Regions from separate parts of the Homo sapiens genome. Here regions 2 and 3 are each linked to region 1. Evidence: promoter capture Hi-C in 16 types of primary human blood cells and fetal thymus (Javierre and others, 2016). All regions are on one chromosome and are shown on one strand. Each heading gives the region's core, a stretch centred on a gene start or on the middle of the fragment in contact. The rest is flanking DNA. Distances are from core to core; before and after follow the strand shown. Region 1 holds the start of BCL6B (BCL6B transcription repressor). Region 2 holds the start of RPL26 (ribosomal protein L26). Region 3 holds the start of TRL-TAG1-1 (tRNA-Leu (anticodon TAG) 1-1).

Region 1 (2,889 bases), core at 132-2,631:
GGGCGCAGGGAGATGCCCAGAGGTTCATAGCTGGGGAAAGTGTGATGAACGTTAGTGCCATTTCCTAAACTCTGCCTTTGCCCTTAACACCTCACCCACAGAGAACGCCGAGCCAGGGTCCCTCACCTGGCCTGGATGAAGCGGTGGCATGCCTGGACCACGTGCTCCATCTGCAAATAGGTGGCGGCCGCTAGGACTGCTGGTGCAGTGGCTGGAGAGAGGCGCAGGCGCGAAGTGTACATGAAGTCCAATAGAGGGGCGAAGCCTCTCGCTTCGGGACCCCCGGGCAGAGAGAGCACGTCCACCCCGACTCCCGCACGGCCCCGGAAAATTGAATAGAAGAAGCCACTAGAGAGAGAGCAGATAAGTCCTTTGGGGGCTGGGGAACCAAGGGAGACATGCGCAGCTTCAGGAAGCCCCGCCCCCTGAAAAAGTCCCGCCTCCTCACTATCACCCCGCCCCCAATTCTGGGACGCTCCGCCTCCTGCTTCTGAAAGACTTGGCTTCGGATTCCCTCTCAACGGCCCTGTGGTCCCACCCCTTTCCCATTTGGCCCCGCCCCAGGCCCCACCCCTCGAACCTGCAGGCGATGAGAACTGCCTTGTGTGCTCTGAGGGGTTGCCCGCCAACCAGCAGCGTGACGTCAGTGAGGATCCCGCGCAGGCGCAGCTCGTTGAGGTTGCCCAGCACGTCGGAGGAGTGGCGAGTGAACTCGCGGACGTAGCCCAGCGCTCCCTCCGGGGCGGCGGGGGAACCCATAGCGACACAGGCCTGTAGAGGCCGTGGAAAGTGCTCTGGATCCAGGCAGTCCTAAGACGCCTTCCCTCCTCTGTTTGCCTTTTCCTTCCGAGGTGCAACTAGAGCCAGGACTTCCAGCCCCTAGCCCCGGCACACGCAGCCTCCCTCCTAATTCTTCTTGTTCATTCTGCCCTCTACGACACCCTCGCTCCCTTGCCTCTTCCAGATCCCACAGCGCTTGGAGCCAGTTGAAGGTTCCACACCGCGGCGTCGTTGGCGAGCGTGGGGAATCCCGCGCCCATCGCCCTGGGTTCGACCCCCAGTGCCCCTCCAGCACCGCCACTCCCCTCTGCGCGCCTGTGTCTCAGGTGTCCAACCCTGCCTCGAGATCTCACGGCCTGCCGTCCACACACCTCCAAATCCCAGCCGAGGCTCCCTTCCCCGAACTACGGAATTCTGCGACTCCTATCTAGTCCCCAATCCCTAGTTTAGCCCAATTTCTGGGACTCAGGCTCGCTGATGGCAAGCTCCACACAAGCTCCTACCCTCTTGGGGGACCCAGGAGTCTGGCTCCCTCAGTCTCTTGTTCTTACCCCCGTCCTGCAGGGGCCGCGGCTTCTCTTCTTAAGGGGGGCGGGGTCTCTCTCCCCTCTTGGCCTCGGCTCCTTTATCTGGCCGGGATGTCGGGGGCGGGGGTGGAGGTGGGGTGAACGCCTGGGTCTGTATCCTTCCTTCCTCCCTCGCTCTCCAGATGGCGAGTCCAGGGCGGGGTCTCCGTCTCGAGGGCGGGACCTCAGAAACAAGGGGTGGTCGTAACGTAGGGGGTCTTGGGTCACTGCAAGTGGACACGAGGACGGGGATATTGGAATTGGGGAGGAGGTTAGGGATATCGAGGTTGGCAATACGGGAGTCTGAGTCGTCGGAAGGCCTGGGCCAGTGAAAATTGGTGTGTTGGCTTTTGGGAGGGTTTGCCAGGAGCCAACCTTTGCTGCAGGACAAAGTGCATACGGCAACCCCCTCTCCCTCTCTTGTACTGTGTTAAGGGAGAAAAGGGGGAGCCCAACGAGACAGCAGGTTTGGGCAGACGACAGTGGGCTCCCGTAGGGTCTCAGACGGGGAGGGTGTGGTGTGAATGACAGGCTACTCTACCCGGGCCTACAAAAAGGGGGGCTCTGGCCGGGCGGGGTACGGAGAGGGCGGATATGATTTCTAGTTGGTTTCCTTCCATTGTCCTGCGACCGGACGGCTCCGCCAGCTGCTTCCCCTCGAGGAGGTGGGGAAAGCCCCGAGGTGGGGGTGGAGGGGCGAGAGACGCTCGGGAGACCTAGGCGTCCGGCCTCTCTCGCTCCCGACTCTCTTCTGGGTCCTTGTAGGGATCCAGAGAGATGGACTCCCGCCCAAAGCCCGCTTGCTTTCCCCCAATCCCAGCTCACGAGGGCCTCGGGCACCCGCCCGTCGGCTACGCTTGGAGGCTGGCGGGACGCCGGGGTCCAGCGCGGCAAGTAGGCAAGGCTCGGCAATGTGCGGCTCCTTCCACGAGGGGGCGGCCGAGCACTGGCCTCGCCTCGCCCCTCGTCTCCACCCGGCCTGGGGTGCGCTCAGACCCGGGCGCAGGATCCATTTGGTCTGGGCGGCTGAAACCTTTAGCCTCCTCCCCTTTGCGCGGGTTTATTTTGCACCTCTGTCTCCTAGGAGGGGACTAGGGCTGGGCGGAGGGAGCTAGAGTTAGGAGACCGAGGGGACTTTCCCCTCAGGCTGGGGTTCCTACCCGAGGTGAGAAATCGCGGGCTTTAGGAGCCAGGGGAATGGGTGGGACAAGAAGCGGGACCTGAGCCTGGGAACTCCGGGTTTTCTTTTCGAATTAAGCTAGACACTGCTACCCAGATGTCTTTGGAGGTGACTTTTAATTGAACATTAAAATTGGGTGGGGTAAACGAGAAGGGAAAACAAGGAGGAGGGAGAGAGGGCAGGAGGGGGCTTAACCACCCTAATTTGAAGTCCCTGATCTGAGAGATGGGCATGGATCACACCCTCATATTTTGTTTCGGGAGACATTGCGGGCAGGCAAGGCAAAGCTCATTTGGAGAAGGGGTGCTAGAGCTGAATCCAGCTGCAAGGCAGAAGCTCCCCGGATTTGGGCTGGGGAGAGTG
Region 2 (2,889 bases), core at 134-2,633, 1.4 Mb before region 1:
TGATGTAAAGTGTAGAGAAGAGCGTCCCCACACTCAGAAGGCTCACTACGTCTTCGGTATTCTTGTGAAACGCCTGTCCTCTGTCACTGTGACACCCGTGTCATTCATTCAGCAGAAGCCGTTCAGCGCCGGTGCCTGCTGCACTGCCGCTGCCTCAGAAACCATTTGCAGGGGCCGGGCGCGGTGGCTCACGCCTGTAATCCCAGCACTTTGGGAGGCTGAGGCGGGCGGATTGCCTGAGGTCGGGAGTTCGAGACCAGCCTGGCCAACATGGTGAACCCTCGTCTCTACTAAAACTACAAAAATTAGCCGGGCGTGGTGGCGGGCGCCTGTAATCCCAGCTACTCAGGAGGCTGAGGCAGGAGAACCCGGGAGGCGGAGGTTGCAGTGAGTGGAGATCGTGCCAGTGCGCTCCAGCCTGAGCAACAAGAGCGAAACTGTCTCAAAAAGAAGAAAAAGACACACACACACACACACACACACACACACACACACACACACACACACACACACACACACACACACGAAGAAGAAGAAAAGAAACCATTTGCAGGGAGCGCACGGCTTCCGTCTGGTCCTGAACTGGACGCAAACAGGCCGAGCATTTAGAAACCCGCGCAGCTCCCCGCACCGAGAGGCTTCCTCTCGCCTGGCTCCTTCGAAGCGTGGTCTGGACCAGCACCTCCCACAGCACTGGGGGCGCCTTGGAAACGCGGCCTTGGACCTATTTCCGCGGGGGCAGGCGGCGATCGGTGGCCCTGGTCCTCGCAAGGCCCCTCACCACCCAGAACTGAATCTCTGGCGGGCCCTGCTGTGCGGTCAGCAGACGCCCAGGTGCAGGGGCGGTGGCCGGCGTCGCGGTGGAGCTCGTTAAAGTACCGGCACGCTGGCCGCGCCCACGCCACGGGCGGGAGGGGACGGTGAGTGCAGGGACCCAGGCGACCGGCCGGCCGGCGTCCCCGCGCCTCCTGGCGGCCAGAAGCAGGGCCTGCGCTTCCCCGGCTAAGGGGTGCCGGCCCCCGCCCCGGCACCTGGGAGTGAAGGTACCAGCGGGTCTCCTGGGCGGTCTCCTGGGGCCGCTCGTTCCTTCATCACCCCCAGGGGCAGTTGGACCCTGAGCAGCCTTAGCCAATAGCCCCGGGACTACCCTTCCCAGAGGATTCAGCGGCAGCACCCGGGTCTCGGAAGGGAGACACTAGGACCTGGAGGAGGGGAGTTTTGCAATCCCTCGCAGTTCCCCTCCTAGCCACTAGGTGACACTAGCCATAAATTTATTTCCCAGTTTACTCCCCTCGCTCAAACTCCGCGCCCCTCTCGCTCCGAGAGACATAGGTCTCGCGAGATCTTTGGTAAACTTACAGAACCGGAAGCAGCGTGTAGTTCTCTTCCCTTTTGCGGCCATCACCGAAGCGGGAGCGGGTAAGGATTCGGCGGGCAAGCGGGTGTAATCAGCAGCCATCCGTTCTTGGGCATGGTGGCTTCCGACCGCGGGGACCCCGAGAGTCTCTTGTCGGCCGAGTAGCAGCCAGGAAGGAGAGACTGGGATGGTTTTTTATCTGTTGCTTTCTTAAATCAAGGGCCGCCGGGCCGGAGATGGATGGAGGGACCGGGGATTTGGGAACTCGAAAACGAGCTGAGGGAAGGGAGCCTGTGGAAATAGACTGGAGTCTGGGTAGTGTCGTTTCCTAGAGAATGGTCTCGAAGTAACTTCTCGGTAAAGTCTTCACGGAATTTCCAGACCACACTTGCCCACTGGGAGGCTTTTAGGACCCGAGACGTGTGCAGGCTTTTCCAGGTTCGGGTTGGTGGGCCTTATTCATTTTGGCGGGGCTATACGTATTCACTCTTAAGCCTGTAGAAGATGAACGTTGATTGTACCTTCTAAAACGTGAGGTTATAGTTAAGAGAATTGCGTTGTCGGTCTGCTCAGCAGAGATGTAAGTCCAGTCTTGATTTCCTCAGGCACTACTTGAGGAGTTGGGAGAGTGTAACTAAAAGGTCTTATAACTAGGACAAGTGTTTTTGATGCAAAAGTCTTTAGTCCGTAAACATATACAGAAAACACCCGAATAAAACAAAAAATAAAAAGTTTCGAGCTTCGGTTGATAGGCCCTTCCGATCAAACAGTTTTTGTTGAAGTTGCACAACATGACACTGCCTATGATCATTCTAGACTATCAAGATAAAATCATTGCGGTTATTTGTTTGGAAGCTGGATGAGATTTTGGTCATTTAAGAGTCTTTTTAACTTTTTATTTAGCCAAAATGAAGTTTAATCCCTTTGTGACTTCCGACCGAAGCAAGAATCGCAAAAGGCATTTCAATGCACCTTCCCACATTCGAAGGAAGATTATGTCTTCCCCTCTTTCCAAAGAGCTGAGACAGAAGTACAACGTGCGATCCATGCCCATCCGAAAGGATGATGAAGTTCAGGTGTGTATCCCTACTTGTTCTCGTTGTCTTGATGGATATTTTACGCACTTAGCTTAGAAGAGAGATTGCATTCCTGAGAAAGATGCTTCTGAGACTCTTGCTCCCAAAGAGTGGCAAGATGAGTTGAGCCAGGGACCAAAAAACAGTAAGTAAGCTGCTTTTCAGTTTTTAATTGTATTATTTGGTGAAAATCTTTTTTTTTTTTTTTTTTGAGATGAAGTCTCGCTCTTGTCCCCCCCAGGCTGGAGTGCAGTGGTGCCATCTCAGCTCACTGCAACCTTCGCCTCCCGGGTTCAGGCGATTCTCCTGCCTCAGCCTCCCGAGTAGCTGGGATTACAAGCGCCCGCCACCACGGCTCGGCTAATTTTTGTGTTTTTAGTAGAGGCGGGGTTTCACCATGTTGGGCAGGGTGGTCTCGAACTCATGGCGTCAGGTGATCAGCCCGCCTCAGCCTCC
Region 3 (2,889 bases), core at 136-2,635, 1.1 Mb before region 1:
TCTAAGTGTCCGGTTCCCCCTCCCCCACAGCCAGCCTCTGATGAGCCAGCCTCTGTTATGTCGGGTGGTTAATTTCATTCCCTGGGTTGCGGTTTCAAATCTCCTCCTCACGCGTTGGGCATTGGTTCCAACCCCTAGGATTGGACAGTTTCGTCTCAGGGTGGGCCAGGACTTTCCTTGGTCATCTCCACTCCGCATTTGGTCGCGCGTTCTGTGGGCAGTGCGCAAATGCGATCGGGGGCACCACCAGCTCCCGCATCCGTCCCTCCCTTCTTCCCCCTGCCACTTTCCCCCTTTCTCCCCACCCCTTTCTGTCTCTGCGCCCTCCCCTCCCGTCTGTAGAACCTCCGGAACCCGAAGCTGGAGAAAGCGGAGATATTGGAGTTCGCCGTGGGCTACTTGAGGGAGCGAAGCCGGGTGGAGCCCCCGGGTACAGCGCGGGGGTGGGGCAGCGGAGGGAGGGAGGGGGGACGCCAGGAGGCTCCGGCCGGGGCAGAGTGGGCGGGCCCTGCGGTGGATGGTGGGCTTGGGGAGTGGCCGGTTCTGCTCCGAGGCGAGGTTAATAACACCCGCGCGTGTCTGTCTCTGTGTCTCCCTCATTTTCTCCCTCTTTCCGTCCATCTGGCTTCCTGTCTCTGTGCGCCTGTCCGGCCTTGGTATCTCTGCGCCCCGCCCCTTCCCTCACCCCTGCCGGGCCCCTGCCCTGCCCACCTGTGCTCCCGCCGGCCGCACCAGCCGCCGCGGCTCCAGGGGTTCCCCGGTCCCCAGTCCAGGACGCCGAGGCGCTCGCCAGCTGCTACTTGTCCGGTTTCCGCGAGTGCCTGCTTCGCTTGGCGGCCTTCGCGCACGACGCCAGCCCGGCCGCCCGCGCCCAGCTCTTCTCCGCGCTGCACGGCTATCTGCGCCCCAAACCGCCCCGGCCCAAGCCGGTAGATCCGAGGCCTCCAGCGCCGCGCCCATCCCTGGACCCCGCCGCACCGGCCCTTGGCCCTGCGCTGCACCAGCGCCCCCCAGTGCACCAGGGCCACCCTAGCCCGCGCTGCGCATGGTCCCCATCCCTCTGCTCCCCGCGCGCCGGGGATTCTGGCGCGCCGGCGCCCCTCACCGGACTGCTGCCGCCGCCACCGCCGCCTCACAGACAAGACGGGGCGCCCAAGGCCCCGCTGCCCCCGCCGCCCGCTTTCTGGAGACCTTGGCCCTGAGCCTTGGGGGGTGGTGGGGGCGGGGTCTAGGGGTGGGGTAGAGACTCCAGCCCGAGGGCAGCAGAGGGACCCGGGCGTCCGGGCGAGCAGGTGTTGGGGAGGGCAGTGGGGCGCGCGGGCTCAGCGCGCGGGTGAGATGTGGTCTATATTAGAGTATCTATATAAATATATATTTCCCTGGTTCCTGTCCCTTTTCCCTGCCCCAACTTCTCCCTTGCGTCTAGGATTGTACTCTCTCTGCCCCTCAGCCCAGTCCCAGTCCCTTCCCGAGTCCCTAGTGCATGGAATAAAGTGGTTATTAAATCCCCGTGTGTCCCCGAGCCAGGGGCCTGCCTTTATCTCGACGTCCACGCCCACTTTCCCTTCCCTTCTGTCTCCCACCCTCAGTCCTGCTCTCCATGGCCCAAGCCCCGGGGCAGACAGGTAAGTAAAGAAGAGAGCAGAGCGGGAACTGAGATCGAAATTGAAACCAGGTGGAAAGAGAGAGATAGGGTAGGGGGAGAAGGGATGGGGGCCTTTAAGAAAAAAACGGATAAAAAGGAAAAATTGAAATAAAATCGACTCTGGTGGGATTCGAACCCACAACCTTTGAATTGCTCTATTCGTCACTAGAAGTCCAATGCGCTATCCATTGCGCCACAGAGCCACCCGACGAACGGCGGCGTCTTGTAGCTTACGGGTACTAGAGTGGGAATGGGGCAGGGTTGGGGAGCGGGGCTAAGGGACTTGGGCGGGACATGCCAGGAGGGCGCGGTTTGGATCTCAGAGGCCAAGCCAGGTAGAGGTAGCGGGCGCAAAGCATGTTAGCCAGGTGAGAGAGAGGGCGCACATGGGTCGAAAAAACAGGGAGGGAGAGCAACCGAAAATGGCTGAGCGAGCGAGTGCAGAGCTCCGGCTGCCCGCTTGGGGGGTGTTTCCGGCTCAGGCGCTCCCCACTCCCAGATATAGTCCCACCCAAATAAACTAGTTTTGTTGTAAATTTCTGTGTGTTTTTGTCTCTTCTCGTTTATCTGTTCTGCCATCTGCTGCTATGCGGTCCACAGTCTCGATGGTTCTTCATTTCCAGTCTAAAAGATGTGGAAAAGGAGACGAATCAATTTGGCACTCTTAAGATTTGCCCCATTCCTTACTTCTAGTCTCTTAGGAGGACAACGGGGACAGTAAGTTTTCGTGCAGGTAGCGTGGCCGAGCGGTCTAAGGCGCTGGATTTAGGCTCCAGTCTCTTCGGAGGCGTGGGTTCGAATCCCACCGCTGCCAGGCTGGAGTTTTTCTGGTGGATTACGCACCTGCTACAGTTCTGTTAACAGTTCTGTGAGGTTACACCTATTTACATGCAGAAAGTAATTTTACGAATTCCCCTGGTAATGGTTTCACCATCATCTTCCGTGTTTGGTCTTCCAGAGAGATCATAGGCCTGCATCCATCCCAGAAGCTAAGACCTGATGGTAACTGCTGAAGCAATATTTCGTTTCTTCATAACATCTCTATTATTTCGTTTCTTCATAACATCTCTATTTTAACATGTTTTCAAATGTTAGCTCAACTTCCAACATATTTAAATAATTTATTGTACGTTCTCTTAACACTGTGTTATAGGACTCAATTATCCGGTAGGAAAAGCACAAATAATTGGTAGTGTCCTAGTTTACTTTTTTTTTTTGTCGTATTATCTTGGGTCATAGGAGTA

Evidence for each region. The method cuts DNA at HindIII sites, captures the fragments that hold promoters and counts their contacts. A CHiCAGO score of 5 or more calls a contact.
Region 2: a contact is called between the fragment with the promoter of RPL26 here and the fragment with the promoter of BCL6B in region 1, in 1 of 17 cell types (activated CD4 T cells). The highest score is 5.2, in activated CD4 T cells.
Region 3: a contact is called between a fragment that was not itself captured here and the fragment with the promoter of BCL6B in region 1, in 3 of 17 cell types (activated CD4 T cells, fetal thymus and naive CD8 T cells). The highest score is 6.1, in activated CD4 T cells.

What each region holds. Positions count from the first base shown.
Region 1 is chr17:7,021,542-7,024,430 of GRCh38, reverse strand. It overlaps BCL6B (BCL6B transcription repressor), which reads right to left and starts at 1,381. Exons shown (of 9, transcript NM_181844.4): 1 at 1,332-1,381; 2 at 581-771; 3 at 127-348; 4 at 1-30. The coding sequence starts at 759. RefSeq lists a silencer at 2,288-2,427. The HindIII fragment of the contact is 4,378 bases long and covers 1-2,889 here.
Region 2 is chr17:8,381,687-8,384,575 of GRCh38, reverse strand. It overlaps RPL26 (ribosomal protein L26), which reads left to right and starts at 1,383. Exons shown (of 4, transcript NM_000987.5): 1 at 1,383-1,419; 2 at 2,261-2,433. The coding sequence starts at 2,266. RefSeq lists a silencer at 789-1,058 and enhancers at 490-1,207, 1,459-1,628, 1,208-1,925. The HindIII fragment of the contact is 10,171 bases long and covers 1-2,889 here.
Region 3 is chr17:8,119,884-8,122,772 of GRCh38, reverse strand. It overlaps HES7 (hes family bHLH transcription factor 7), which reads left to right. Exons shown (of 4, transcript NM_001165967.2): 3 at 343-430; 4 at 736-2,181. The coding sequence ends at 1,202. TRL-TAG1-1 (tRNA-Leu (anticodon TAG) 1-1) reads left to right here and starts at 2,378; the gene lies at 2,378-2,459. It overlaps TRR-TCT2-1 (tRNA-Arg (anticodon TCT) 2-1), which reads right to left and starts at 1,848; the gene lies at 1,761-1,848. RefSeq lists silencers at 593-702, 923-1,382, 2,323-2,532. The HindIII fragment of the contact is 3,122 bases long and covers 1-2,889 here.